Regions from separate parts of the Homo sapiens genome. Here regions 2, 3, 4, 5, 6 and 7 are each linked to region 1. The links are contacts of gene promoters, found by promoter capture Hi-C in blood cells and fetal thymus (Javierre and others, 2016). All regions are on one chromosome and are shown on one strand. Each heading gives the region's core, a stretch centred on a gene start or on the middle of the fragment in contact. The rest is flanking DNA. Distances are from core to core; before and after follow the strand shown.

Region 1 (4,100 bases), core at 595-3,094:
CAAAAACAGGATGCGACGGATGTTTTTACATGCTGGTTTCATGTAGGCGGGTACAGGAATTATTTGTGACAGGGGTTAAGAAAGTAAGAGAACGAGAGAGAGGAGAGAGGAGAGATGGAGGGGAGAGAGAGGGAGAAGGAAAGAGAAAGAAAGAAAGAAAAGAAAGAAGAGAAAGAAAGAAAAGAAAGAGAAAGAAAGAAAAAAAGGAAGAAAGAAAGAGAGAGAGGAAGAAAGAAAAGAAAGAGAGAGAGAGAGAAACAGATCAAGCAAAAGGCACTTCTGAAAAATGAAAGCAAAAAAGCAACCCGGCCCAGCCCGGAGCTACCCCGCGCGGCCTCCAGGCGCAGCCAGCCCGACGGGCCCGTTTTGCAATCCGCCAGACCGGAGCACGCCCGCGGCCACCGCGATCTTTCGAAATCTCCGAGGGCTGCTTTCCTCCGCGCCCACGTCCGGGCACCAGGCAGAGCCTCTCCTCTAAAGGCGGGCAACCCAGCGCAGTGCCATGCAGACGGCGAGGGGCAGTGCCCAGGAGGGCAGTTTACAACATACTTAAAATGTTAACGCTGAAGCAGGGAAAGTAATGCCTTAAGGTGGGGGGAGGGGGGAGTCTTCCTACCATTTCACGGTTATAAGTACCTATCTCATACCTAGCAAGAAATATTTGCAAGTGATTTCTCCCTCTTCCCCCTTTTTAATGTTCGGATTTGGGTCGAGAAGACTTCTCATGAATCACCAATATGACTTTAACAATCATTGGATCGCAAGCTGCTATTATTATTTTAAACATTCTGCCCAAAGACTAATTGAAATAAACAAATCTATTTTTAAAAGGCAAGCTTCAGAAATTTGCTCTTAACCCATTTCAGAATTTAAGTCAGTTATGGGCTGCTCACTGTTTTACAGAAAGCTAAGGGTCAGAAAGAAGAATGAGGCAGAGGGGAAAAAAACTGTAAAGTGCTCAAAGCACTTTGGGGTAATAATTTGGCTTTTTTTTTTTTTTTTTTTTTTTTGCGAGAATGGGGGATGGGGTTGGAAGAAGCATCCACTAGGCAGAAAGCTACTTCCCTTGAAAATCTTCAGCACCCACATTTCCAAGTTTGGGCAAAGTTTCTGAAACCACGTCCCCCAGCCACCAAATAAAATTCAGTATCTCTCCCCCAAACCCCCAGGTTTTCTTTTCTTTCTTTCCTTTTTTTTTTTTAAGTATCCAAAAGATGTGGGAGGGAGAGAGATGAGACTGCAAATGGGTCGACTGAAATCTCCAGGCTACTACTGATACTTGTTCCCTTCTTCAGAGCCAAACAGAGGAGATCACATCTAAAGTTATCATGGCCAGAACTTGGAGCATTTAACCCTAACTACTAAGACCCCAGCTCGCTCCCTTTCCTTTTTCAAGATAACCGAGCTCCAAACTCAGTTCCCAGTCCTAAAGTGTCATTGCCTACAATTTTCCCACTCCTCTCCATCCCGGAGTCCCCAAGTTGGTTCAACATCTTCCGAGAGCAGCGTTGCTCAGAACAGACCAAGTGGAGACCACAGAAAAGTCGACCCCCCTGTCCTCAGCCAAGCCTCCCCAGCGCATCCCCACTCGCTTACCCTGGGCACTGCGGTCCTCCATGAACTGGCAGAGCAGCAGCAGCAGGAGGCAAAGCCCACCCGGCTGGTGCCTCGCGCGGACCATCCTGGGGGCAGGCGCGGGGCGAGGAGCGCAGCGGCGCGGGGAGCCGGCGCGGCGGCGGGTGGCTCGGGCGAGCGGCGCGCGTCGCAGAGGCCAGCGGCGGAGGGCGCAGCGATCCCGGCGCAGCCCCGCGCTCGCCGCCGGCCGCCCGCGCGATTCAATGGACGTCAGAAGCCGGGCGCAGCCGCGCTTTAAATCTAGACGGGGGTCTCCGCGGTTTGCGGTGGGCGGTCTCCCAGTGTGTGGGGCTGTGGGAGGGCGGCCGCGAGCGAGGGTGTGCGCGGCTCCTTGGGGGTGGGGAGCTTTCAAAAGTTCAGTGTGAATCAGGTGACATTTCCCACCTTCTGGAAACCCTTCCCAATTATCTTTCGGAGGTGCCCGAAATCAAAACGGCTGGAAGGGAATCGTCGAGTTCTTATTTGCGTAGGAGCGAGAGGGAGGGGGAAGGCGACCGGGGCGGGGGTTGGGGGCTACGCGTCGGGGGTGGGGAGTGGGGAAGAACACCCACTTCAAGTCCTGCTCGCCGCCGCTCGCCGGCAGCGCCGGCGCGCCCGGGGTGGCGGGTGTGTGTGTGAGTGTGTGTGTGAGTGTGTGTGCGCGCGCGCGCGAGTGTGAGAGGGAGGGCGCGGTGGGGGCGCTGGAGGCGGTGGCGGGGGGAACCCGGGAGTTTGTCTCCGTGCTGCCTCTCCTCCGCTCCAAAGAGACTTTTGCAAACGGCCGAAGAGCCCCGGGCTGCCCAAATATCCCGCCCCGGGTCGGGTCGGAGCGCGCCGGCCTCGCGGCGGTTCCGGGCACCCGCAGCCTGGGCGCGGGACCCGCGAGGTTTTGTGTCTGGGTCTGTGAGTGCCTGACTTTGCAGCCACCCCCAGCCCAGAGGTGTTGCTAGGAACCCCGGCCCCGGCACCTTCCACCCTGGCAGAGCGCTACCGAGACGCGGCCCTTCGTCTGGACTAGTCGGAAGCAAACAAAAATGTTTAACACCTCAGGCCCGGTCTCCCCGCGGCACAGCCTCGCCCTCTCCCTTTCTTTTCTCCCCTTTCACTTCGCGGCGTCTGGAGTCGGAGCCCGGAGCGGGGGCGCCGACGTAGGCGGTCTGGCCCCCCCTTCCTCTCCCGCCTGGAGACTCCCCAGTTTCTGTCCTGTGTGCCTCTGTCTGTCTCTCAGTCTCCTCGGCTCCAATCTCTCTCTCTTTCTGTCTCGTCTTCTCTCTTTTCGCGGAATAAAAAAGATTGCAACATCCATAATGAACTTCTGTAGCCTCAGTTTATTAAGTACAGTGCCTGGCATTCTTCGCTGAAAGTTGGCGGGTCTCTCATTTATAACATTTTTGGCACCGCTGAATGAAACTGAGGAGGCGATATTTCCTTTTATATAAAACGATTACTTCACGGAAAATGCTATATTGTTTATTCCAAAGCTGCCTTTTAAATTTGTTCTTTTCGCATCTGAAGCCCGAAGGACAACAGATAGCGAAGTATGCAGACAAAATTCTTGGACATTCGCAGGTCACTGGGATTTGTTCTACGAATTTCAAATCTGCCCTTCTTCCCCCCCTGCAACTGCCCTCCCCCCGCCAGACCCTCCCCCAGTCCTCCTCTAGCCCTCCCACCCCCCATCTTCCGTCAACCTTCCCCCCTCCACAACTGCAAATAACTCAGTGATAACAGATTTTTTTCCACCAACTGCAGGAGATAGTGCTAATCTTTTAATAAAAGATCCCATTACAATGGGATCTGTCTGGACAGACTATAATAGATCCCGAAATACAGCCGTGCTAATATTAGAAGACAGTTGTTTGGGTGCCTCTCAGACGGGCCCAAGCCCCCCTTTGAAAGTGGGCATGAATCACAAAGCCCCGCGGCCGCCGCACCTGCACCGCGCGCATTCGGTGCAGCAGGCTGGTAAAAGCGGGTGACCTCGCCGCCGCTTTTCGCTTTATAATTACCGTCATGAGGACGGGAGGGGAGGGGCTCGGGCGGCCCGGGGGAGACTGGATTTTGCTCACTTCAGACGGCTGTGGGGGCTCCACATCCTTCTTAATCTTTCCAGAATCATTCTGTCTGTTTCTGTCTCGCTGTCTCTCTCCCCTTCTCCCTTTCCCTCCAGTCCTCCAACTCATTCCCTCTGCTCTCTTTCCCCTACTCCTTCCCCTCTTCTCTCCTTCCCTCCCTCTACCCAGACTCTACCCGTACTCTCCCTCCCTTTTCTCCCTCTCTTTCTTTTCCAGTCTCCTTTTCTCTCTTCCCTCCAACTCATTAATGTAGAGTTGTTTAGTGCCCTCTAATGGCAGACGACATTAACAATTAATAGCAAACTGTCCCCTTTGCAGGAGCCGCCACTCAATGGCAGAGTTCCAAAGCTGAATTTATTTCTTCTTTATTCAGAGAAATGGTATAGTCCTTATACAATGATGTGCTGGAGG
Region 2 (4,100 bases), core at 741-3,240, 940 kb before region 1:
AAGAAAGGTACCATAATGCTCACTAGAGCTCCCCAAACCTACACGAATGATCCAGTTCAACACAGGATACTCACACTCACCATGACGCCTGCTGCTTTTCACTTAAAACTTAGAGAAGAGTTAATCACTAGAAGATCATTCATTCAGCTTGCTAAAAGTTGATTTCTCCTGCATCTCTGATCTATATTTGGAGAGTACTAAGAGCACCAAAGTATTGGAGCCACGAAAGAGAAACAAATTTTATGACTTGGTTCAGTGAAGTTGCTAAAGCCATGTTAGTTTTTTGACTGTAACCCAAACATCCCAGACCTCCTATTTTCAAACCTCATGCCCAAGCTGTCTAGTTTGTCTTTAGCCCCACTTTGCCGGATTATTGGCCACCACCTACCCATAGGTGACTTGAGTCTTGAGCAAACCCAATACCCCTTAGGCTTTGGCTTTCCCAGAAATAACCCTGGACATGCAGGGTGGTGTCAGGCACGATTCCTCTTGATGTTATCCTCTGCTCTTCCTGCTGATGTCTGCTGCTCCTAGCTCTTCAGCGAGGCTGCCCCCACTTCCTGAGCACTCCTGGGTTCCACAGCTGCAAATCCCTCCACATGCTGAAGGGGCCATGTGACTTCTGGCCTTATTTCTCCCCAAACACTATATACATGGCATACCACAGAAATAGAGAAAACATCTCTCCAGCTGCTCAGAGGTGACATTTGGCCCTATAAAACTGGAGAAGGCACTGCTTTGTACCCCAGAGTCTCAACAGCTCTTTCAACCACTGCCTAACACCCCTAAATCCAGAAATCAGACCTAGTTTCTGAGGTTGAGCCAGAAAAAAGGGAAATGAAGAAGGTAGTGGTCTTACCACCGTCTTTCCCCTCCAGAGAAATTTCTTCTTTCCCTTTCTTCATGCAAATCACCTATATAATTTGAAGCTATGGGACCAGCAATAACACAACCAGAAGCATAGTGAAGCACAGTGGAGGAATTATACCCCTGCCCACATGGTTCAAAAACAATTTCTTCTCAATGGAAAGAAAAGTCAATTTTTTCTTTTTTTTTCTTTCTTTTCTTTTTTTTTTTTTTGAGATGGAGTCTAGCTCTGTTGGCCAGGCTGGAGTGCAGTGGCATGACCTCAGCTTGCTGCAACCTCTACCTCTCGGGTTCAAGCCATTCTCCCATTCCCCTGCCTCAGCTTCCTGAGTAGCTGGGATTACAGGTGTGTTCCACCATGTCCAGCTAATTTTTGTATTTTTAGTATAGACGGGGTTTCACCATGTTGGCCAGGCTGGTCTCGAACTCCTGACCTCAAGTGATCCACCCACCTTGGACTCCCAAAGTGCTGGTATTACAGACGTGAACCACCGTGTCTGGTCCCCAATATTTTTTGCTTTTGAGGACTCAAAGAGGCTGTTTCCAATAGTTTTTGGAGAAAGGGTGGTTTTTTTGTGGGCATGTCAGCCTGATTTTTCTGTTGATGCCATCCTGCTGCAGGCTGTTGATTCAGAACATTGGATATTCTGTGGCTGATGAGCCAAGTGCCCACTGTGAAGGAGATGATAAACTCATATACAGTGACAGCAACTCAGGATTCTCTTATCAATTCCCTTCCTATCATATAAACCAAGAGAAGTGGCCTATGGGAAAAGTGAGCAGGAAAAACACAATTTAATTTTCAAAGCTTCAAAAGATTAACATGCTACATATTTTTAAAATCCACAACATTAGAAAAAGATATCTGCTTATGCTTCTTGGAAAGAAAGTAGTAACTAAGGTTGACAGTGCCCAGCCTAGAAGTCAGCTGCAGGCAATTCTCTCAAACGCTGACTGGTTTTTGCTTCTCTCTGGGCAAGGGAGCACCAGAGGCTGGCGATACATAGCAGCTTATAAGAAAGGGGAGGCTTTGTGTTAGCCCATCCAATACATGGGCATGGATAGAAAATACCTGGGAAGAAAAGCATGGTGGAAAAGAAATAGATACTAATAGCCCATTAAATCCTTTCTAGTGGTATCTGAAGTGAGTGGAGGCCAAAAAGAGAAACATGACATAAGGGGAAGCCCCTTTGCTGGGGCTCTCAGAAGGCACCAGGCTTCCTAGGATTCTCAGGAAGAGAAGCTCATTAACAGTGTCAGATATCCCAGCTGTAACTTCTAGACATGAGCATCCTCCAACACTGAAGGGTTAAAGGTAAGCAGCCCAATCACTTGTTATCCTGCAATTTCTGTAAACAAAAGCTGATTTTTCTAAAACTTAATGCTAATTTCTACCAAGAAGACAGGAAATATAGCTGACCTCCAAATCTGAAGCTTACCACCTTGCCGTTTCTTATTATGTCTTGTATTATGGCTTCCTATTTCTTTTACACTTCAGTTGGAACTCTGTAAGAGAATGATGTCTTCCGAGTGGCTAAAAATAATTTTGTAGTAATAATAACAGTAGCTAGCTTCTAAGTGCTTAATGTGTTGCTGGCCATATATGAAACTCTTCATTTGCTGCTCTTAGGCTTTACGACGACCTTTTCCAGAATAGAAAATGGAGGCACAGAAAGTTTAAATAGCTTGCTTGCAGGGAGGAAACGTGCAGGGATGGGAACAGTGAAGCCCTACAGTCCATGCTCCTAACCACTGGGCTACACTGTGAAGTGGCTATTTACCCCCAATCTCCAACTACTCCATATAAGATTAGAGAACTCAGCCAGGTGCACTGGCTCATACCTGTAATCCCAGCATTTTGGGAGGCCAAGGCGGGTGGGTCACTTGAGGTCAGGAGTTTGAGACCAGTCTGGCTAACATGGCAAAATCTCGTCTCTACTTAAAATACAAAAATTAGCGGGGTGTGGTGGTGGGCACCTGTAATCCCAGCTACTCAGGAGGCTGAGGTTGGAGAATGGCTTGAACCCGGGAGGTGAAGGTTGCAGTGAGCCAAGGTCATGCCACTGCACTCCAGCCTGGGTGACAGAGCAAGACTCCATCTAAAAAAAAAAAAAAAAAAAAAGATTAAAGGACTATGCCTGGAAGTGCCATGAAAATGGAGGAAAATGCCAGGCGGTTGGCACAGGCATTTCGTGAAAACTTCTAGAAATAAAATAAGGGGGAATGTATGTTTAAAATACACACACAAAACCAATTTTCAGATGGTAAGAGGTGGTTTGAAATAATCAGTTCTGAGTGTGTATTTTAAACTCATATTCCACCCCTGCCACCCATTTTATTTCCAGAAGTTCCCATGAAACGTGTGTGCCAACTGCACTATCACGGTACTTCTAGGCATAGTCCCCTACTCTTACATGGGGTGGGTGGGGACGTGGAGGTGCAAACAGTGAATCAGGAAAAGCAAAACCTACTGGAGCAAATGCCATCTAGAACTAGTTACTTCCATTTTAGATACATTTGAATGTCATTTCATTTTTTTGTCTTGAACAAAATATATTTATTACCTTATAGTCTAGGATGCAATATGGTCCATTAACCAAGTAATTAAAACCAGTTGTGATGAGTTAAGTAAAGGGGACTCACAAAAAAGCAGATGAAAATGCTTAAGACTGTGATATGGCCAGAAGTGAGCTGTGAGGTACAGTGAACAAATTCAAAACTTATTTTTTTTCTCCAATCCTCCTTTTTTGAATTTGAGAAAAAAATGCTAGAAGGAATAAGAAATGGATCATAGATAATTTGTGTAGGTGAAAATGTAATTTACCTCAAATCATTATTATGAGTAAACACTTCTTTGGGGCAACAATATTGTTTTCTCAGAATGTCTGCCAAGTGTGTTGATATTTCTGAAATCCAACCTTAACCTGTCATTTTCTTTCTTTAATTTCCTAGACTCAATATTCCCCTCCACCATCTCTAATTCCCTTCCACCTTATATACGCTGTCTCTCCCTAAAGGGTGTGAAAATGGAATGAGTGCATTCTTCTTTCCTTCTCATTCATATTAAATAATGAACTAAGGAATTTTACGATAAATCATTTATAAAGAAGAAATAGAAACCATATTAATAGCATTTTTTTACCATAAATCTTAATCAGAATGTTAACGCCCGGCAAACATAGATGACATCTAAACTATAAGAAAAACCATGTAAGTTTGCCTGATTTTTTACA
Region 3 (4,100 bases), core at 754-3,253, 920 kb before region 1:
AGAGGGAATCCTACCCATAGCAGACACCTCTGCTAGTGAAAAGAGATACAAAAGGAACCTGGTGAGAAACTCCTAGAGCCCTTTAGTTCCTCTCCAATATAGCTGCCCATATACATTTAATCAGACATGAGGAGAGTTTAAAAACACAGCACTGAAAGGAAAGTGGAGCCTTGGATCTAGCTCTCCTCATGGGAGCTCTCCTGAGGCTCAAGGCAAAAGGCTGGGACCCACGGCCTGGGGCTTCCCTGGTGAGGCTCCTCAGATTCCTACCCTGTCTTTCCTCCCTGGTTGCCTGGGAACTGACCAGCTTGCTTATGGCCACTTTCCTTTCCACTCAGCCTCTTCTGACAAAGGGCACCCCCTAGACTGCATCCAGCACCAGATCCCAAGGAGATTCCTTTACGGCATCATGGCGTGATTCAGAAAAGGGAAACGGAGAAACAGAGAAGTAGGTGAAGAAAGTAGGAAAAAGAAAATAAGGGGAAGAATGAGGCTAAAGTCAAAAGAAAGGCCAAGAACTTATTCATGGCTGGGGTGTCACATGTGGTCATCACCATCATATATTTCCTGATTTAAAAATTATCTAAAAGGGCTGGGCACGGTGGCTCACCCCTGTAATCCCAGCACTTTGGGAGGCCAAGGCGGGCAGATCACCTGAGTTCCAGAGTTCAAAACCAGCCTGGCCAACATGGTGAAAACCCGTCTCTACTAAAAATACAAAAATTAGGCAGGTGTGGTGGCACATGCCTGTAATTCCAGCTACTTGGGAGGCTGAGGCAGGAGAATTGCTTGAACCCGGGAGGCAGAGGTTGCAGTGAGCCAAGATCGCACCATTGCACTCCAGCCTGGGCAACAAGAGTGAAACTCCATCTCAAAAACAAAAAAAAAAAGAAAAAAAAATTATCTAAACGTACTTAGGAAAGAATTGAAGGATTATATCCTGAAAAGATTCACTGTTTTGTTGTGGAAATTTGGCCTTTAAGGGCTTTTGTTTCCTGTGAAAATGCATGAGCTATAAGAGTAGAAAGTTTACAGACCAAGTAAGAGATCTTCAGAGTTATTTAGGTTTTAATAAGCTTGCCTCATTCCATATATATTTTTCCAAGGGCAGTCAATCATCTAGACACGTAATGTTAATAAATGAAGTGACATTTGTATTGTCTATGTAGAAGTGACTGTTGCTTACACAAAGCTTTCTTCCAAAGAGTGTAACATTCCCATGGAACGCCCTAACAGGCAGACAGATCTTTTAATTGTTCTCAGAAAGTGCTTCCAGACTTGTAACCTCAGAGAGTGTCTTGCTTACAAGTAGTCTGAGAACAAGTTCTTACATGTTCTAGAAAGGAAGGCCCTGAAAACATAGAAGCAGCCTGTTTTCAAAAAAGGGGAAGAAAAACAGATGTCCGGTTGATTGGACAAATTAGTCCTAGGTAGAAAAAAGAATGTGAAATGCACAATAATTTGAGGGGTGAAAGGCAGTTGTCAGATGGAGAAGGTAATAATGAATGATAATTACTGTGTATTTACTTTCTGGAAGGAGAATGTAGGAAATGTTAGAGCTCAATCACTTAAAAATTCATTGGTTTTTCACCACTATTCTTGACAAAATAAAACGTCAAAATTCACACAACAGCATAGAAAAATAGATGAAACATAGGCAGATAGAAGTTGTGAGTGCCTCGTTCTATCTTGAATGTCTAGAGGCATCTGGATGTTTTAAAGATACCTTTACAAAAAAGTAAACCTTAAAAGAACTACCTAGGCTCTTTTTTCATAACAAAATAAAGGGGATTGCGTAAAAGATTATTGCTTAGAGATCTGGAAGAATTCCAAGAACATTCATATTCCTAAAATAAAAGCCAGCCCAATTTAAAAGTTTTATGAAAAGCTTAACTGGGGTTGTTTCTAAATTAAATCCAAGAACACTCTCAAGTTGATTTTGTCTATTTAGAATTGCCTAAAATAAAGGAAAAGTGTGAAAAACATATATTAGGAAAACTGCCAGACTTAAGTTTTCGCTTCTATCAAAAGGATTATACTGAAGGAAAGAGTCTTTGCTTCTTTATGCATGAAGAATATGTTCTGAAAATAAAGATATCGGCTATCCAAGCAAGCTTTAAAATTGCTCTTTTGTGAGATCCCATGGTATGTGGTGTAAGTACAAATACATTAGAGGTGTGTATTAATTATTGATGGCTGCCTAAAAATTTACCCCCAAATTTAAGAGCTTAAAACAACGTTTATTACCTCACACTGTTTCTAGGGTCAGGGTCAGGGTCAGGAATCCAGGAGTGGCTTAGTTGGGTGGTTCTGCCTCCCGAGATTATCATCAAGCTGTCACCTAGGGCTGAAGTCTTCTGAGGCTTGACTGGGGCTGGAGAATCTCCTCCCAAGCTTATTCACGTGATTGACAACAGGTCTCAGGTCCTCATTACCTGAGATTCTCATTGCATGGTGGTTGGCTTCCCTTTGAGTGAGTGATGAGAGATGGTAGCCACAATGTCTTTTATAACCTAATCTCAGAAGTGACATATCATTACTTCTGCCATATTCTGTCACACAGATAAATTCTGGTACAATGTGGGAGGGGAATTATACAAGGGTATGAATACCAGGAGGAGACAATCTTGAGGGCTGGCTACCATAGTCTGCCTTCTAGGCTCCAGTGAATCAAGTCCCTCCAACATGCAAAACACGTCCACTCCATCTCAACATTTCTAAAATTCTTGTCTCATTACAGCATCAACTCAAAGTCTAGAGTCTTGTCATTTAAATCAGGACCAGGTACACAAGAGGTTCCTTAGGTATAATTTCTTAACTCTAGCTCCTTGGGTATAATTCCTCTCAATCTGAAACTAACACGCACACACATAGACACACACACACACACACACACACCCCAAACACACAATGGTGGAACAGGAATAAACACTATATGCATTAATATTCAAAAAGGAAAGGTACTGGACACACTACTATGTCCCCATAGCAGCTCTGAAATCCAGCCAGGCAAATGTTGGAATCGCCTTAGGATTTAGTCCTATTTCTACGCATGAGTTATTCTCTGAGGCTTTTAGCTTCCCCTTCAGAGTCATCCTTTTTTAAAAAGAGACAGAGTCTTGCTATGTTGCCCAGGCTGATTCAAACTCCTGGGCTCAAGTGGTCTTCCCACCTTGTCCTCCCAAAGTGCTGGGGTTACAGGAGTGAGTCACCATGCTTAGCTATTCTTTCTTTTTCATGAAAGTTAGTACATGTATGCAGCTGAAATTTTTTCTTAACCTGCAGTGAAACAGGGGCAAAGTGAGTACCAAGGCCTTTTTTCATTTCATACTGTCTCTATCCCTTTGAGTTCTAGTTGGCAATGTTTCTACTAATATAATTCTTTTAAAAAATTTGTGAATCACCTATGAATTTTTGGGGGTCCATTCCATTAGACAAAAGTCACGCCCAAAAATCTTTTTGAGATAATCCCTTTCCCACCTTGTGATTCTGCTGAAAAACTATGCTCTTAAGCTTCTCAGGAGCCCTGTTTTTGAAAGAATCTGTGAGTCACAGCCTTAAAAACTTTAGAGGGCCTTTGTGTGACCAAACTGGTACTCTGAGGCACCACTTTTGATCTTTCTGAGGTCATAACAAAGGATTTATAGTCACATCTCAGCTTCATCTTTGGATTATGTTTTCATGATGGTGCCCAGGATTTGACCTCTGTCCTTCAGCCATTTCTTAATTTAGCATTTTTCACCATCTGTAAAAGCTGAGAATCTTTATGTCTTTATGAATAGCAAATTAGATCACCCAGTTTACCAGGTACATTCCCACCACCCACATTATTGCAGACAACAATATTGCTAAGATTTATGCCACTCCATAGTAAGGATTCCCTGTTCTGTTTTCAACAAGATTTTTCTCACTTTCTTTTAAACCTCCACCAGCAGCCTGGTCAAAGTCCAAAGTTTTTCTAATGTTTTGTTCAAGGCTCCTGAGACTTTCACTGCTATGCTTCTTAAATTCTTTCCAGCTACCTCCACTGTCTAGTTTCCTAGCTGTGCCTACATTTTAGGTATTTATTATGGTAGCACCTTACTTCCAGGTATTAAAAA
Region 4 (4,100 bases), core at 615-3,114, 830 kb before region 1:
ATAAATCACGGGCATTCAAGATGTTTCCAACTTTCAGTGGAATACCTACAAGAAAGCAATTTGAATAGTTTCTATATTATCCCAATAGGTGATGATCTCATAAGAAGCAGGCAAGAAAGCAAGTGCCCAAACACTTTTTTGGGATTTGCTTCCCTCTGTAGTTGGCACATCTTTATGCCAGTCTTAGGGACCAGAATGAGGGAGCAATTACACTGGATGGAGCTGCAAATCAACTTCCACCAACACCACATGGGGAGTTGGGAAGCAATAATCTGCAGAGAAGCTCCTAGCTGAACCCTGATTTGCACCAGTTAGACTTCCCCAAACTAAACTGTCTATACCTCCTATACCTTGGGCTCAAACACTCATCTTCTTTTAAGTATGTAATGCCTCATCCCCAATTTGTTGCTATTGATTCTTTATATGCTGTTTTCCCATCTGGAAAGTTCCCCTCACAAATCCTCCAAGATAAATTTTTTCTTTCTTGGAGAGTTCTATTAGAACTCCAGAAACTTTGGCAAACCCTCACTGAGTTCTCATCCCTTAAACACTTTAGTAACTCCTCTGGCACCAGGTTGACTGTGTGCACATTTGTATCGGGAAGGGCTTTGTCTATTCGCCTTTCTTTGTCCTGTTATTTCTAATAAGCGGAAGTTTCTCCGTGGTAGACTCTAGGCCTGCTTTATTTTCTTGTCACACTGATCCCAAGATCTTGTCACTTCCATAGTAGTATAGGGAAGAAATAGATATTCCAGGGTTATGGAAGGAAAGTCCTTAGCTCTGTTACTTAATGTGTGATCTTGGGAAGGGTATTTTATCTGTGATTTTTGCTGTGAGATTTCAGCATGGTGATCATGAGGCCTAATGGATTTGTTGATTTTTCTCCTTCACTTGGAGCTGACTGTGTCAGGAAGTACTAACAAGTATGCTCAGGCAGTGACATATTGACACAATGAGGCTGGCTGTAAATAGTGAGGTCTATGCTCTAAGCAACCAATCAATCTTTAGTGGTGCCAGGGCTACATGCAAGGTGTCAAGCCAGGCTGTTGAGGGAGATTCAGACACACGTGTGTGGCAGAAAAGGAGATTCACAATTCAAGAAAGGACTTGCTGCCCAATTGCAATGAGTGTGATTCACTAATGGCCTCCATCTATCTATTAACTCTTTTAGCTCTTCCAACACCTTTATTTTAGTTCCATAAGGCTCATAACTGGCTTGCAGAATAGGAAATTAATACAATCAGCAATGTAGAAATGTATCTAAGAGATTAAATGAACTTGCTGGGGTTGGTATTGAGAGGGATTTACACAGCTTCTTGATATTTGGTGCTTGAATGGTGGTTGCTTGTGAGATCTAGTTATCTTTCCCTCGTATATTTACCATTTTCAGTGGATGTCTTATCTTGCTTTAAAACCCCAAGACCCAGCAAAGCCCTTTTTGGAAAAGGTGAGTGACCCTTAATCATGGTAGGGATTAGTTGAACTCTATCCCCTGGCTGAGTAAACAGGAGCCTGGAAGGAACAGGTGACCTGTCCAAGCTCATCTAGTTAAGTAGTTACAAATCTTCATCTTGACTGCCAGGACTGATCTTTGAAAAATAGACATACAAGGCCTTAAGATCTACCTGCAGGAGAGAAAACAGGTTTAAACTGACATGGAGATATTTTAGATTAAAAACTTCAGACTTAGCTATTTCAGTGAGGGGTTCCTCTAGTTTGAGTTGCAAGTAGGTCACCATGCTAAGAGCAGAAAACCCTACTCTAATTCCAACCTCTGACCTCATTCAATAATCATTGGCTTGATTCCATTTATGAATCAAGCTCTGTTAGCGGCTTCATGTGGGGACACCCTGTTCTGATGAAGTTCATCTTCTGGGACACAGTGATACTTCATTTAGGTTTAGGAAGCAGAGAAGAGGACTGGGGTAAATCAGAGGTGGGTGTCAAGGTATCCACTGGAGAGAAAGGGAAAAAGGACTCAGAAGAGAATTTTAAAGTCACAGGAGTTATTGGATGTGGTAAGTGAGAAAAAGTGCCTGATGACCTCTGCAGAGCTGACCACTTTTTCTGAAAAAGAAGTGTCCATGATTTAAGAGTCATTATAATGAAAGATACCATCTTTCAGCTATTAAGGAATAATATTAAGGCAAAGATGAGACAAGATAATCATTCCCTACTTTGGAGCTGGGGGGTAGAAGGAAGAAGACTACATAAGCTAGGTCAAAACTGAGTATTAAAAGTGCTCAGCTGGGCGTGATAGCTCACGCCTGTAATCCCAGCACTTTGGGAGGCTGAGGCAGGCGGATCACGAGGTCAGGAGATCAAGACCATCCTGGCCAACATGGTGAAACCCCGTCTCTACTAAAAAAAGATACAAAATTAGCTGGGTGTGGTCACGTGTGCCTGTAGTCCCAGCTACTCAGGAGGCTGAGGGAGGAGAATCACTTGAACCCGGGAGGCGGAAGTTGCAGTGAGCCAAGATTGTGCCACTGCACTCCAGCCTGGCAACAGAGCGAGACTCCATCTCAAAAAAAAAAAAAAAAAAAGAAAAGAAGTGCTCATACTCTTTGTACCAGTAATTCTATTACTAGAAATTATTCTTAGGATAATAAGATGTGGATAGTTTTATAAGCAAACATTCACTGTAATATTTATAATAGTAGTAACTAATAAAGGATTTGTTAACACAGTAGTACATTTTTACAATAGTTTTATGTATCCATTAAAGATTTATGAAAAGTTTCAGTGAGATAGTGTATGCATGATACAAAACTAGTGAAGGCAGTATTCTCCTTGGAAACAACAAAAGAATAGCTGGAAATAACCACTAATATGTTGATTTTTCTGGAAAGTTGGGAGACCAAGTTGCAAAAATGCATTTCTGTTTTCATTCCTTGCAAGTGACAGTTTAACAAAAAATTTTCCTCCAAATTTGGCTAGCCAGCAGCCTTTATGGAATTTTAGAGTATGGACTGTCAAAATAATTTCTCTTTGCTTTTGACAAGCAACAGTGATGGCCTCTGTATTAGTCTGTTTTCACGCTGTTGATAAAGACATACCTGAACCTGGGCAATTTAGAAAAGAAAGAGGTTTAATGGACTTACAGTTCCACATGGCTGGGGATGCCTCATGATCATGGCAGAAGGTGAAGCAGGAGCAAAGACATGTCTTACATGGCGGCAGGCAAGAGAGAATGAGAGCTTGTGCAGGGAAATTCCTCCTAATAAAACCATCAGATCTCATGAGACTTACCACTATCATGAGGACAGCATGGGAAAGACTCGCCCCCTTGACTCAACTTCCTCCCACCGGGTCCCTCCCACAACACGTGGGAATTCAAGATGAGATCTGGGTGGGGTCACAGCCAAACCGTATCAGCCTCTTTCCTCAAAACCTATGCACTAATGCAATTGCCTCATGAGTTTACATGTTTCTTCCGCATCTGGAAGAGGGTCATTCTTTTCACTGACAGCAAGGGCAGAACTAGGTTAATGAGATCATGTCTTGTTCTGGATTGCAGTCTGTTACTTGGCATACAGTATGGTAGGTTGATTAAATGCATTCTAACTTCTCTACACTCTTTTAAAAAGCATGTATTGAGGTGATTACCTCAATAGGTGCTACCAACCCTATCAGCTATGACTGCAGCTTCATGTAGTGGGTAGTGTATTATCTGTTCATACCAATTCAGTCAAGTTAGCCTCTTTCCTCTGTAGGGGCGGACTCACTGACATCTCAGAAAACATCTAATTGAAAAAATGTGCTCCATATGGAGTTCAAAATCTACAGGTTGTTGTTGTTGTTTTATAAGGACTCTTTCCTAAAATGCAATATGTGATTTTTTAATACATTACACTGACTACAAGGTTTTCATTGATGCCAGTCACAATGAATGTGCAAATTGTGTGGAATAAAGTGAATATTATGGTGCAGTCTTTGGAACTTTTCCTTGAACATATTCTTTCATCTCCCTGCTTTGGCCCCATATACTAATTCTTAGAGGCAGCAAGAACCATACTGACCCTAATGACATGTTCAGGACTATCTTTCCCTAAGCTTAACTTTTAAAGGAAAGGCAGAAGCCACCTGCTTCTGAGTGG
Region 5 (4,100 bases), core at 1,075-3,574, 810 kb before region 1:
AAACAGGCCTGGAAATACCCACGTTGCTCTAATTGTGAGCGCTGAGTGAGACGACAGTATAAAAATACCTAGCGCATAGTAGAACCTTAGTAAATGCCTTTTTTTCCTTCTCTTGTGACTTGTAAGATAAGGCCATCCTTTTAAATTGAATTGTGCGTGGTTCTACTCAATTTCTATAGGTATAGTTACTAGACATTATTCACTATCTTAATGAAACGCTTGAATAGGAACTCTGCCCTCAGAAATGCAAACTGTTCATCTGAAAGGAGTGGGCTTACGAGGGTCTATAGCTCACCTGGTTCATGGGTTGTGATTCTGCCTTCTGGTTTGAGAGTGAAGGGAGGACTTTGGAGAGATCCGCTTGCTGATAACAGGTGGAGGGCAGGAGTTTCAGTGGCTTGCTTATCCACACGACATGTCAGAAACATAGGCAATGACTATACTGCCTTTAGTTGTTAGATTTTTATATCAACCTCCACATATCTGTTCCCTTTAGTCCTTAGCACTAAAACCCATTCATAAAGAAGGGCCAGTGTGCACATCTTTGGAGAAGCAAGAACATCAACAGCAAGGGAGGGAGGGGAGGGCTCCTGCCACTTGGCAGCCAGGCTTTAGGGATGGGGTAAGGAGAAAATCTACAAGACTTAGGAAAAAGTGGTATCCCTTGAAAAAGAAAAGGGAAATAGGGTGAGTCCCTGGGGACAAAAGTAGGTAGATACTACCACCTGAGTTGGGCACAGGGATCCCTGGGACTTACAGAAAACCCCAAGTAGTTCCCTGAGCATATAGATTGGGGCTATTTGTCTTCAGCAAGTATGAGACAGTGGTATAGCTGCTCATAGGAATCTCAGAGGTTGGGGTATCAGATGCTGAAGAGTGGCTCAAAGAAATTGGCTGTGAACCCAAGCCCCAGGGGAGCCCAGTTAAGATTCCGTAGGGTCTGGCAGTTGTGGCTGGGAGTTGGGTTTCTGTTAAGATTACTCTTAAACTATTAAATAGTTTTAAGCAGGAGGTGATAGCACCAGATTTACATGTTGAAAACTTGCTCTGGCTGTTGAATGGAAGATGGATTATACAGGGATCAGATGGGAACTAGTGGGGCCTGTTCAGGAGACTCATCCACATTCCAGTAGTAGATGTGGGCGGCTTGGCTTTGGATTCACTAGGTGTGAGAAAATATCTTCCCTTTGCTAAGCACCTGATGCTTGCTTATTTAATTCAGTAGAGTTAGTAGCTTTAGTATTATTATAGTTAGCCTTCTGTATCTGCGGGTTCTAGATCTGCAGATTCAATGAACTGCAAATTGTAAATATTTGAACAAAAAATATAAAAAATAATACAAAATAAAAAATACAGTCTAATAATTACACAACATTGTCATTGTATTAGGTATAAGTAATCTAGAGATGATGTAAAGTATACAGGTGGATATGTGTAGGTTACATGCAAATATTACAGCATTTCATATAGGAACTTGAGCATCCACAGATTTTAGTATCTGCAGAGGGTCCTGGAGCCAATCCCCCATGGAAACCAAGGATTATCTGTTCTCTTTTCTCATCTGAGGACCACTTATTGAAGTTCAGGGTGGATGAGTTTTCTAAAGTAACTTATTGAATGGTTCAAACCCAGGTTTGTCTAACCTCAAAGCTTACCTTTCTTTTCCCTCCACAGTTAGAAAAACAAGAAGAAAAGTTGAGATTGTCTAATTAATAGGCAAATAGAAATTTTTTTGAACCTTTAAGTGGTTGTTAGACCACGTTCTCCTGTAGTCAGCCTTTTCCTGGCAGTACAATAATTTTTGTAAGTTAATATAGAAGTACTGATTCAGTAAAAGGGGTTGGCCATTTGAATATTTTGAGGACTTTAAATATAGATTTGACAGTGTAGGTATCATGCCCAAAGAAGTGGCTTAAAAAGATAAATTCAAGGAAAGAACCCCTAAACAATGATTTCTAAGGTTTTAGTAGAAGGACAGTGCTGAAAAGTTGTGTTCATTTAATTATATTAAAAACGAATGGGACGTAGGGAATGGAAGATGAATTCATACTCTGGATAATTGAATAAATATAATTTTCCTTATGATTCTAATTAATTTTGCTTCCAAGTGCCTAATGGACAATGCATGGCAAAGTAGATGCCTATCATTATAATAGCATTAAAAATATTAAATATTATTGAATATTAAAATATTGAGTGATGCTGGACACGGTGGCTCATGCCTGTAATCCCAGCACTTTGAGAGGCCAAGGAGGGCGGATCATGAGATCAGGAGATCGAGACCATCCTGGCCAACATGGTGAAACCCCGTCTCTACTAAAAATAGGAAAATTAGCTGGACGTGGTGGCACTCACCTGTAATCCCAAGCTACTCAGGAGGCTGAGGCAGGAGAATCGCTTGAACCCAGGAGGTGGGCAGAGGTTGCAGCGAGCCGAGATCGTGCCACTGCCCTCCAGCCTCATGACAGAGTGAGACTCTACCTCAAAAAAAAAAAAAAAAAGGTTGAGTGATAGTTGATATAATCTTATATAATGTAGACTAAAACTTCTTCAGTTTAAACATGTCGCATTGCCAATCTGGACAATATTGTGAGGCCTGGCTAAAAAATGGATGTTGTTTATTGTTTTGCATCAGTTGCTGGCTCTGTTGAGACAGAGTGGTAAGAGAGAAACTTGGATTTGGAATGTTTACTCCTTTGGGGAATCTCAGAGTTACCATTCTGGGTTACAGTATTTGCAGTAAGAAGTCACAGGAGTTAGTCCTGGTAATGCAGGTGACAGCAGGCGGAGACACCAAGAGTACAGACAAGGCCTGAATGCAAGGCATCTGTAGAAGCTGATGGCAGACTGCAGCCCCTGGGGCTTCCTGGTGTGTGGGGCCCCATTATGCAAATGCTTAGAGGAAGTTGTGTGCCTGGAACATAGCAGATATTCAATTAAAATATACATTATATGTCAATTACAAAATATATAAAACAAAATACAAATCTGAAGCTTACTGTATTTCCTTTTATAACTCATTGAATCCTCTTAGTACCCAATGAAATAGGTACTACTATGATCCTCATTTTACAAATGACAAATTAAGATGCACAGAGGTTAAGCAACTTGCCCAAGCTCCTACAAATAGTAAGTTGTATGGCTGGGATTTGATTCCAGAAAGTCTTAACACTGAAAGCTGTTAGATTTGCTCTTAATGTCTCCCAGAACTGCTTCTCAATAAATATTTGTGGATTATTGAATTGAGTGTCTAATGCTGTGACTTTTTACGGTAGAAATACTGTGTTTGCCTATGCAAGGGGTTTGGGAAGCAAAGCTGTTGAAAGCTTTTTTGGCATCTCTTTTATTGTCTATAATATTGTTAGAATGACCACGTCTGCTCTTAAAAATAGCAGTACCGGAAATCCACCCTCTCCTGCACATTCTCTCTTTTTTTTTTTTTTCTTCATAGGACTTGTCACCATCTAAGTTGATTTTATTTGTTGTTTTGTGTGCCACTACCACTGGAGTGTAGGCTCCATAAGAGCAGGGACTTTGCTCTCACTGTTCCGTCCCCAGCATGGGACATGGCTGGGCACAAAATGTGTGGTCAATGCAAATATGAAATTGTTTAATTAATGAAGAGAATTAATACAAAGTTCATTGGTGCTTCAGCTTGGGCATCTAAAATCCTTGAGCCTTTCAAAGGAATTGCCGATCTATGCTACACTTGCCACCCTGGGGCATCAGTGGTTTAGGGAGTTACAATGCCTGGGCTGAGTTCTTCTAGTTGTTAATGACGTATGGAAAATTCTTTTGCTTGAAGTTAATGAGACAGGCCTCTTACTTCCTTGCAAAATATGCTGTAGGCTTTCCAGAATCCCGTGTGCTCTTGCAAGTCTCATCTACTCCTTACAAATCTGAATTTGATAGGTTTCTGCCATGCATGAGAAGCTGGTGCCTATATTCAGTTTTTATTGCCCATATGCCTTATTGTAGGTACTTGTATTGAGGGAAAAACCTTATATGTCCAGGTAGGCTACAGAGTCAAAGAGGCTTGTCCAAAGTGTTATTTGTAGTAGGTGAGTGACACTGCATCTGCGTGTTTTTCTTTTTTATTG
Region 6 (4,100 bases), core at 877-3,376, 770 kb before region 1:
TGATAGAGTGAGACCTTGTCTCCAAAAATACAAAACAAAACAAACTTGTTCTCTCTTGAGTTCTCTGGAGCACCCCCTAAGGCAACTTGGAAGTGTCCCTGGCTGCAGTCTTCAGCCTTGGCCCAAATGAACTCCATGTTAATTTTGCCTCAGCTTCTTCCTTTTAGACATCACTTTGACCAATCCTGATTGACCCTCATCCTGTGACATGAACCCTGTCGGTGGTTAAACTGGTGAGAGAAATCTTGTCCTTTGTTAAATGCATGGTATCTTTATTAAAGACTTGTTTGCTGAAACTTCAGAAAGTCCAGGGAGCAAAAGCATAGATGAACTTCTAAGTAGCAAGTGTTTTCCTTTTAAAAAGAGCAAAATAAGTATCTAAAACCTGGACTTCAGAACTTTCTTGATGCTATTTTGCAACAGAAAGGTTTGAAGAAATGAACTGGATTGCACAAGGTGACTTAATGAGGCAGTCTCTTCCATAAAGAAAATTTACCTTAACTACTAGATCAACATTCCTTTTGCCTGGAGTGATGTCGAGATCCTTTTACTAAATGTTAAATGCATTCAGGAGTTTCCTAACACATTGCCACCTGCTTAGTTTGGTTTCTGTTGTCTGCCTGATGACTCACAGACAATCTCTCCAGTTACTATAAGGTCCATAGCCCTTTGATCCTAGTCTGCATGTTGCTGATAGCATGGAATATCATTTCTTGTGTTCAATAAGGAAAAATTCAGAGAATTTTAAATTAGTCTTTTTCATTTATTCATTAAACAGTTGTTTGACGTGGTCCTCTGCTTCACTGGTTGTCAACTTTGATTGACTATGGGAATCCCATGGGCAGCAAAAGGCCAATATCTAGGTCTTACCCCAGGGATTCTGATGTACTAATTGGTTTGTGGTGTGGCCTAGCATTGGGATTTTTTAATGTCCTCCAGGGTGATTCTATTGTGCAGACAAGGCTGAGAACCACTGCTCTAAAGCTGATTGTGTTCTTAATTGGGGACACTTCATGCTTACCTTATTACACTACAGGTGTTCTTAAACAGGACAGTGTGGTGGACACTGAAGAAGTTAAAATCTACTTGTTGGATCCTTATTCTTGGAGATTCTGAATCAGTAGGTCTGAGGTCTTTAGGAATAGCTCCTTAGGTGGCAGTTCTGATGACATCCCTTTATGAGACACAGATACAGAATAACCATTTAAATAAACTTTAGAAATCTAGTAAGGGTACAGATAAGATGCCAGTACAGTTTATCAGCAGCCTCCGTTTTCTGCCATCCCTAGGTGCTGCAGTGGAAATACCATATTACAAACTGTTGCTGTTGACTAATGCTAATATTCAATTACTTTTTAAAAAGCCTGGCTTTCCTTAATTTAATTCTGCTTGTGGAAAAACATACTCAACAAACAAGAGTGGGAAAATTAAATGAAAATACCTAGATGTTTGTCAAAAGCCTACAGACGTATCTCTTTCTTTGCACTAAAGTTCAAAGCATGCTTAAGAGTTGTTTGGCCACCTTAGAATTTTGCAGTGTGTGTTTTATCATAAAAAGTGTGAGCCAGTAATTAAAGCTTTACATCATTGTTTACTTATCTTCTTCCTTCTTACCTGAATTAGGGGAGGGGCTTTCAAGTGAATCACTTTCTAAGCCTCTGTGCAAATTAGCAGTGTTGTGTTTCCTTCAGCTTTTCCAAGCCATGCTTAATAATTAGGAAGATAGGCTGATTCAATTTAATATAGCATCTGATTGAAAGCATTTGAAGTTAGATTACTAAATATAGTAAAACTATATTTAGTTAAATAAAGTTAGCCTGTCACTGTTAGGAGGTGGACCTTGCTTTTTATAACTTCTTTCAGAGAGTGAATTGTGTTTCAGGTAGACTAAAATGGTGACCCTAGTGACCTTCACTGTGCCTACTTGTAAGTCTAGATCTCTCCAGAGCTGGGTTGTTCTGGGATCAGAAGATGTGGGATTTCCAGTTAGTTTCACAGCCAACATGGTTCTCCCTCCAGGCTGCCCCCAGGACCTGTGGACTCTGCTCCATCTTCAATGGCCCTTTGTCACCAGCTCTTGGTGTTTTTTTTGGTCCCGTCCCTACTACCCATGTCCCTGTACTTCTCCCTCTCTCCACCATCATGTCTCTCATCAAGACCACCAAAATCACAGACCTTCGTCTCTTAGCGACCTTCATTTCTACTCCTCAGAACTTACTGAACCTTGTTCTTCCCACTTCAGAGACTGCACAATCAGGTATTTTCTTCTCCAACTTTAACTAAACTTGCTTCTCATCATCATGCTGATTTTGAAAATCTGATCTCTTTCCTGTTCTCCAATTCTGTCAGCCTCACCCAAACCTGCTGCTTTTATTTCCCTGCTTAGCCAGAAGCCCTGTGATATGGTTTGGGTGTTTGTCCCCCCAAGTCTCATGTTGAAGTGTGGTTCCTCGTGTTGAAGGTGGGGCCTGGTAGGGGTGGTTGGATTGTGGGGGTGGATTTCTTATGGTTGATTTGATGCTGTCCTCTTGGTGCTGTCCTCATGATAGTGAGCTCTCAGGAAATCTGGTTGTTTAAAGGTGTGTGGTGCCTCCCTCGACCCCCACCTCTTGCTCCCACTCCTGCCATGTGACAGGCCTGCTCCCTGCTAGCCTTCTGCCATGATTGTAAGCTTCCTGAGACCTCACCAGAAACAGATGCCAGTGCCATGCTTCCTGTACAGCCTGCAGAACTGTGAGCCAATTAAACCTCTTTTCTTATAAATTACCCAAACTCAGATATTTCTTTATAGCAATGCAAAAATGGTCTGACACACCCTATGACCAGTCATTGAATATATTCTCCACAGGACCCTTGAGATGCAGTCCCAGGCACAGCCACTCTAACTCGGTTTTTCTCCTGGCAGGCTGCCAATTGCTGTGTGACAGAAACTGCTATAGCCCTGTTGGCTGGCTTTGATACTGATTAATTACTTACAAGCTCTCCTGGCTCCTCTGTCGTGCCTTAGGAATTCTGTGTATTCCTCAGACAACTAGGGATTGATTTCCTTCTTTTCTCCTACAGCTGTTAAAGTTTTTTTTTTTTTTTTTTTTGCTCTTAACCACAACCACACTTCTCCTTTCTTACTCTCAGATATGACCTCATGAACTCCTTCACTTAGAAACTAGAGATGGGAATTCTTGCACTTTTACTCTCCTTCAAGTGTTTCTGTATATTGTTACCTATCTCTCTCCTTCCTTATTCCCAAGGTTAATTGGTTACCTCTACTCTTCCCGTTCCCTTCTGAACTTTTTTCTCTGTTATCTTCACTTCCTCTTATATCTTCTTCTGTCTTTCCTTCTTCGTTGACTCAAGTATCTTCTATTCTGAAAAATACCTTCTCTGCTCTATTTCCCTGCCATTGCACATTTGACTCTTCCTTCTCTTTACTGATGGACTTTCTAAAAGAGATGTACATAGAAAGTTCTACCTCCACTTTTTTTAGCCAACTGCAACTGGGTCATTAGTTGGACTCTACTACCTCAGCTCAACTAATTTTATATGCATCCACTTCTTTTCAGCCCGCATCCTGTCTGCCAAGTTATGATACTACTGATCATTTTTCCTTTGGCTTCCATAATACGCTATCCTAATTTTTCTTCTAATTTTTGGGTTGCTCTTCTTCTGTTTCCTCCACTGGCTTCTTTTCCATCACTGATTCTTTTTTTTATTTTTTATTATTTTTTTTAGAGACAGGGTCTCACTGCAGTGCCCAGGTTGACCTCAAACTCCTGGGCTCAACTGATTCTCCCACCTCAGCTTCCCAAAGTGCTGGGATTACAGGCGTGAGCCACCACACCCAGCCGTCAGTCTGGTTTTTTAAGTATTACCAGTCTCTCAGTGTTCCATGCTTGGCCTTTTTCTCTTTTTCTGTCTTGGGGAGTGAATTCATCTATTCCCATGACTTGCTTCCTTTGAATACTCATTAGTTCAACATATACACAGCTAGCACCAGGCACTAACAGTTCAGAGATGAGCAAGACCAACTCATTCAGCAAATATTAAAGAACACCTAGTATGTGTAAGACATTGCTCTGATGAGCCAGACAAAATTCTTGCCT
Region 7 (4,100 bases), core at 543-3,042, 750 kb before region 1:
GTAATCCCAGCACTTTGGGAAGCCAAGACAGGCAGATCATTTGAACCCAGGAGTTCGAGACCAGCCTGGGCAACATGTTGAAGCCCTGTCTCTACAAAAATTATAAAAATTAGCTGGGTGTGGTGGCACATGCCTATATTCCCAGCTACTTGGGAGGCTGAGCCCAGGAGCAAGGCTGCAGTGAGGCATGAGCGAGCCACTGTACTACAGCTTGGGTGACAGAGCGAGACCTTGTCTCAAAAAAAAAAAAAAGGTTTAACTATAGAATTAACGTGCATATGTGCTCATAAACATGGGTACACGTGCGTACATTTTTTAAAACATAAATTAGATCATGCCACCCGTTATTCTGTGACTACATTTTTTAGTTTAACCATATATTTCAGACTTCTTTCCATGTCATTACATTATTTTATCTGATAAGGTTGAGTGTATTTTTACACTGTTTTTCTTATGTCATCCTAGAGAAAGATGCATAGAATTAAATCCTTTTAACATTAACATACAGAGTTAAAAGTATACCCCAAGCATTGGTTCTTATCCTTCAAAGGTCCTTTTTCAGATTTTGTGAAGGCCATTGGAATGCCCAGGTTGTAAGTTGAGTGTAGTTTTAATATTTGGAAATTGAACTAATAATAATCCCAACTTTATCCATGTTAATGCTTCTATGTATTTAAAGTTATAAGTAGTTAATAAGACATAATTTGAACAGATTATTTTGGATAGCCGATGTATAATCAATTCATAGGAATTTAAGAAAGAAGTTTTTTGTGTGTGACCTCAGGTTTACTTTTGCATTTAGTTATGAACTACATTCAAACTAGATTTGGTTTCACATTTTCTTAGCTCTTTTAAAAACATATTATCAAAAAATTAAAATTAATTTCCCTATGCTCATATATTATTATTTTATAATCTGAATTTTCTGGGACGGAGTTGTAATTCTTCTGACAATCCAATAAATTTATTTTGTGTTCTGTGAGCTTACAAGTCCACTAGAGGGTGCATTTTACTCTTTTTTGACACAGACAGAAATTTAAGTCCATAATTTTGTTTCACTTTCACAGAGCTAGTTGGGTTAACAGCTTTGGAAAGCAAAGTCCCTTAAATTCTTAAACATGGACACTAGGAGACTGTTGTACAAAAACATAATTCATTAGTATAAAGCAACCATATCATTATTAAAATAGTGGCCTTACCAGTGGATGCTATTGTAGGATGCAGAAGGGAGCACGGTGGGGTGGGGATGTCTAGGGAAGCTTCATGGGCAAGATGGGATCTGTAGTGTTCAAACACCTGGTGAAGTCAAACTTTTTGGTCTCAGGACCCCTTTACACCATTGATAATTATTAAGGCTCCCAAATAGCTTTTATTAATGTGGGTATTGATATTTAATGTTCTAGCAATTAAAATTTTTTTTTTTTTTACTAATGCATTTAAAAATAACAATAGTAACGGGCCAGGCCTGGTGGCTCAAGCCTGTAATCCCAGCACTTTGGGAGGCTGAAACGGGCGGATCACCTGATGCCAGGAGTTCGAGACCTGGCCAACATGGAGAAACCCCATCTCTACAAAAATAAAAAAATTAGCCGGGCTTGGTGGCACGCGCCTATAATCCCAGCTACTTGGGAAGCTGAGGCAGGACAATTGCTTGAATCAGGGAAGCAGAGGTTGCAGTGAGCTGAGATCTTGCCGTTGTACCAGCCTGGCAACAGAGCGAGACTGTCTCAAAAAATAAATAAAAATAAACCCATTACATGTTAATATGAATAACATTTAAATGAAAAAGAACTATATTTTCCAAAACAAAAATTAGTGAGAAAATGGCATTGTTTTACCTCTTTGCAGATCTTTTTAATGTCTGGGTTAATAGAGGGCAGCTAGAGTCTCATATTTGCCTCTGCATTTAATCTGTTGTGTGTTTTGGTTAAAGTATGTGAAGAAAATTCAACCCCACGCAGCTATGAAGTTGGAAAAGAATATTTTAATAGCCTTTTCTGATAATTGTGAGTAGTCTTCTGTGATTCTATATCTAAACAATCAAATGGTAGTTCCTTAGGGGCTAGTTGCCATGTGGAACCTGAAACCATATCAGTGAACTTATTCTAGTTAGTTATGTTAAAAGCCAGTAGTCTCTCTTGGACCTTGAAAGACTCTTTTGCTCAGGCATGACTTTGTAATATTACACATTGGTCTTGGAAAATATTGGTTCATCTAGTTATGTAAATCTTCCAAATGTTAACACAATATCAGTCTTGTAAATATGTCAAGTTCATGATGGCAGATACAAGTTTTCTAAGAATTTAATTTTCATTTGAAAGCTTGAATTTTATCACTGGCAACAAATACTAACAGTTGTTTTCCTTGAATTGACATGCCCACTTCATTTATTTTTAAGAAAATATCTGTGAAATACCCAAGTTCGAATAATTATAGTTTGCCTGTAAGTCATTTTTTCAAGTAAAAATGGTGTTCCATGAAAAGAGAAGTTAGTTAGGTTCACGAGTACTTTTCCTTGAGACAACCCTTAGACTTTTACATAGAGCAGAAATGTTTTGTATGTATTTCATCACACAGAATAGTAACGTGTCAAGATTTAATAAAATTGATAGTTTACTGCTTCATCAAGGCCATTTTTATGTAAAACACAATGGCAGCTGGTAGAGTTTGGTGCCACCAGCATGATTTGTGCTAAAGGGCCAGCAGTTTCACTCACTCACTCTCTCCATCAATGTTAATGCAAACACAATGCAAGAGGTAAATAATGTCTTAGTATGATGACATTAGTTTTGATCCTGCAGATCCTCTGAAAGGGTCTTGGGGACCCTCAGGAGTCCATGCACACATTGAAAACGGCTGGACTAGGAGAAGCATAGAACTGGGTGTTGTGAAGCCATTGCAAACAAGGATGGTGTATGAGGGCAGGGGTGAACATGAGTGTCAGCCGAACAAGGGGCTGAGGGTAGACTCCAATTGATGGCTCTTGTGGGAATAGAGGAAATCAGAGGAGAAAAGAATGTGTCTTGAAGGCAGAGCAGACCGGAGAGGTCCCTGAACACAAGTTCTGAGAAGCAATTTTGTGGCTTTCCTGGTAGGTGGGCATGCGTCTTTAATTAAGCACCCCTGCCCTTCCCACTCTGCCCTGTTTCTCCCATATTTCTACCTGTTGGTTCTATTTTTACCCCCAAATGCAGCATAAGGCTCTGCTTTCTCCTGTGCAGCCTTTCAAATATGAACTTAGGGTCTTGAGGCCCAGTGGAAGGGAGCTTCGAATGTCAGAACAACTGGAAACTTTTTTCCATAGATAGTAAGGAGCCATTGCTTACTCTGGTCTCTCCTTCCCTTCCTGTTTTTCTGCCTACCTTTTTGAGAATGGCATTTGACAATGATATTTATTGAAAGAGCACTATGTATTAATAGTGCTCTTGGGTTATGTTAGGGTTGCAGCCGTGAACAGACAGCCTCAGTACCTGCTGTCAAAGAGCCAAGAATCTAGTAAAGGATACAGGCAAATGTGGTCAGGATCATGGGAACATTTGGTGAGGGCCTCTAATCCCAGAGGGGAAAGGGCTTGCAGGTCAGATTGCAGGACTTTTTGGAAGAACTAAGACTATGGAGGCTGAGACTTAAAGAGTGAGGGGTTAGTTAAGCAAAAGGTATAGGGAGCCTAAGGAAAAGGAGAGGGTTCTGGAGAGGGCTCCACAAGGATTTGGATTTAGAGACAGCACATGAGCAGTCAGTGTGGCCGCAGCGTAGACTGCTAAGTGGTCAGGCCTTCACTTGAGATTGGAGAGGGAGTATGGACTGAATTGTGTCTCCCCAAGTTCATATGTTGAGGCTCTGTCCCCCAGTGACTACGTTTGGAGATAGGGTCTATATGGAGGGAATTAGGGTTAAATGAGGTCTTAAAAGTGGGGCCCTAATCTGATACTACTAGTGTCCTTATTTTAAAAACACCAGAAAGCTCCCTCACTCTCCACACTCATGCACCAAGGAAAGGCCATGTGAGGACAAAGTAATGGTTTGCTAGCCAGAAATAGAGCCCTCATCAGAAACTGAACCCTCTCAAACTTTGATCTTGGACTTTCCGACCTGCAGAA

Evidence for each region. Contacts are between HindIII fragments. The CHiCAGO score rates a contact against its expected background, and 5 or more counts as called.
Region 2: a fragment that was not itself captured here is called in contact with the fragment with the promoter of FST in region 1 in 1 of 17 cell types (M0 macrophages); the score reaches 6.8 in M0 macrophages.
Region 3: a fragment that was not itself captured here is called in contact with the fragment with the promoter of FST in region 1 in 1 of 17 cell types (total B cells); the score reaches 5.1 in total B cells.
Region 4: a contact is called between a fragment that was not itself captured here and the fragment with the promoter of FST in region 1, in 1 of 17 cell types (total B cells). The highest score is 5.6, in total B cells.
Region 5: a contact is called between a fragment that was not itself captured here and the fragment with the promoter of FST in region 1, in 1 of 17 cell types (total B cells). The highest score is 7.5, in total B cells.
Region 6: a fragment that was not itself captured here is called in contact with the fragment with the promoter of FST in region 1 in 3 of 17 cell types (total B cells, naive B cells and total CD8 T cells); the score reaches 8.2 in total B cells.
Region 7: a contact is called between a fragment that was not itself captured here and the fragment with the promoter of FST in region 1, in 16 of 17 cell types (total B cells, erythroblasts, megakaryocytes and 13 more). The highest score is 26.3, in total B cells.

Annotation. Positions count from the first base shown.
Region 1 is chr5:53,478,373-53,482,472 of GRCh38, reverse strand. FST (follistatin) reads right to left here and starts at 1,844. Exons shown (of 6, transcript NM_013409.3): 1 at 1,597-1,844. The coding sequence starts at 1,681. RefSeq lists an enhancer at 542-611. The HindIII fragment of the contact is 5,217 bases long and covers 839-4,100 here.
Region 2 is chr5:54,423,203-54,427,302 of GRCh38, reverse strand. No RefSeq gene overlaps it. Among named protein-coding and RNA genes, the nearest start is that of HSPB3, 30 kb to the left of the region's middle. The HindIII fragment of the contact is 626 bases long and covers 1,678-2,303 here.
Region 3 is chr5:54,401,936-54,406,035 of GRCh38, reverse strand. It overlaps LINC01033 (long intergenic non-protein coding RNA 1033), which reads right to left. Exons shown (of 5, transcript NR_126379.1): 3 at 2,248-2,513. Among named protein-coding and RNA genes, the nearest start is that of HSPB3, 52 kb to the left of the region's middle. The HindIII fragment of the contact is 226 bases long and covers 1,891-2,116 here.
Region 4 is chr5:54,312,755-54,316,854 of GRCh38, reverse strand. No RefSeq gene overlaps it. Among named protein-coding and RNA genes, the nearest start is that of ARL15, 4.2 kb to the right of the region's middle. RefSeq lists a cis regulatory region at 3,174-3,521. The HindIII fragment of the contact is 4,389 bases long and covers 1-4,058 here.
Region 5 is chr5:54,288,706-54,292,805 of GRCh38, reverse strand. The region is part of intron 1 of ARL15 (ARF like GTPase 15); the gene reads left to right. Among named protein-coding and RNA genes, the nearest start is that of ARL15, 20 kb to the left of the region's middle. The HindIII fragment of the contact is 1,344 bases long and covers 1,653-2,996 here.
Region 6 is chr5:54,248,665-54,252,764 of GRCh38, reverse strand. All of the region lies in intron 1 of ARL15 (ARF like GTPase 15), which reads left to right. Among named protein-coding and RNA genes, the nearest start is that of ARL15, 60 kb to the left of the region's middle. The HindIII fragment of the contact is 1,094 bases long and covers 1,580-2,673 here.
Region 7 is chr5:54,231,648-54,235,747 of GRCh38, reverse strand. All of the region lies in intron 1 of ARL15 (ARF like GTPase 15), which reads left to right. Among named protein-coding and RNA genes, the nearest start is that of ARL15, 77 kb to the left of the region's middle. The HindIII fragment of the contact is 1,062 bases long and covers 1,262-2,323 here.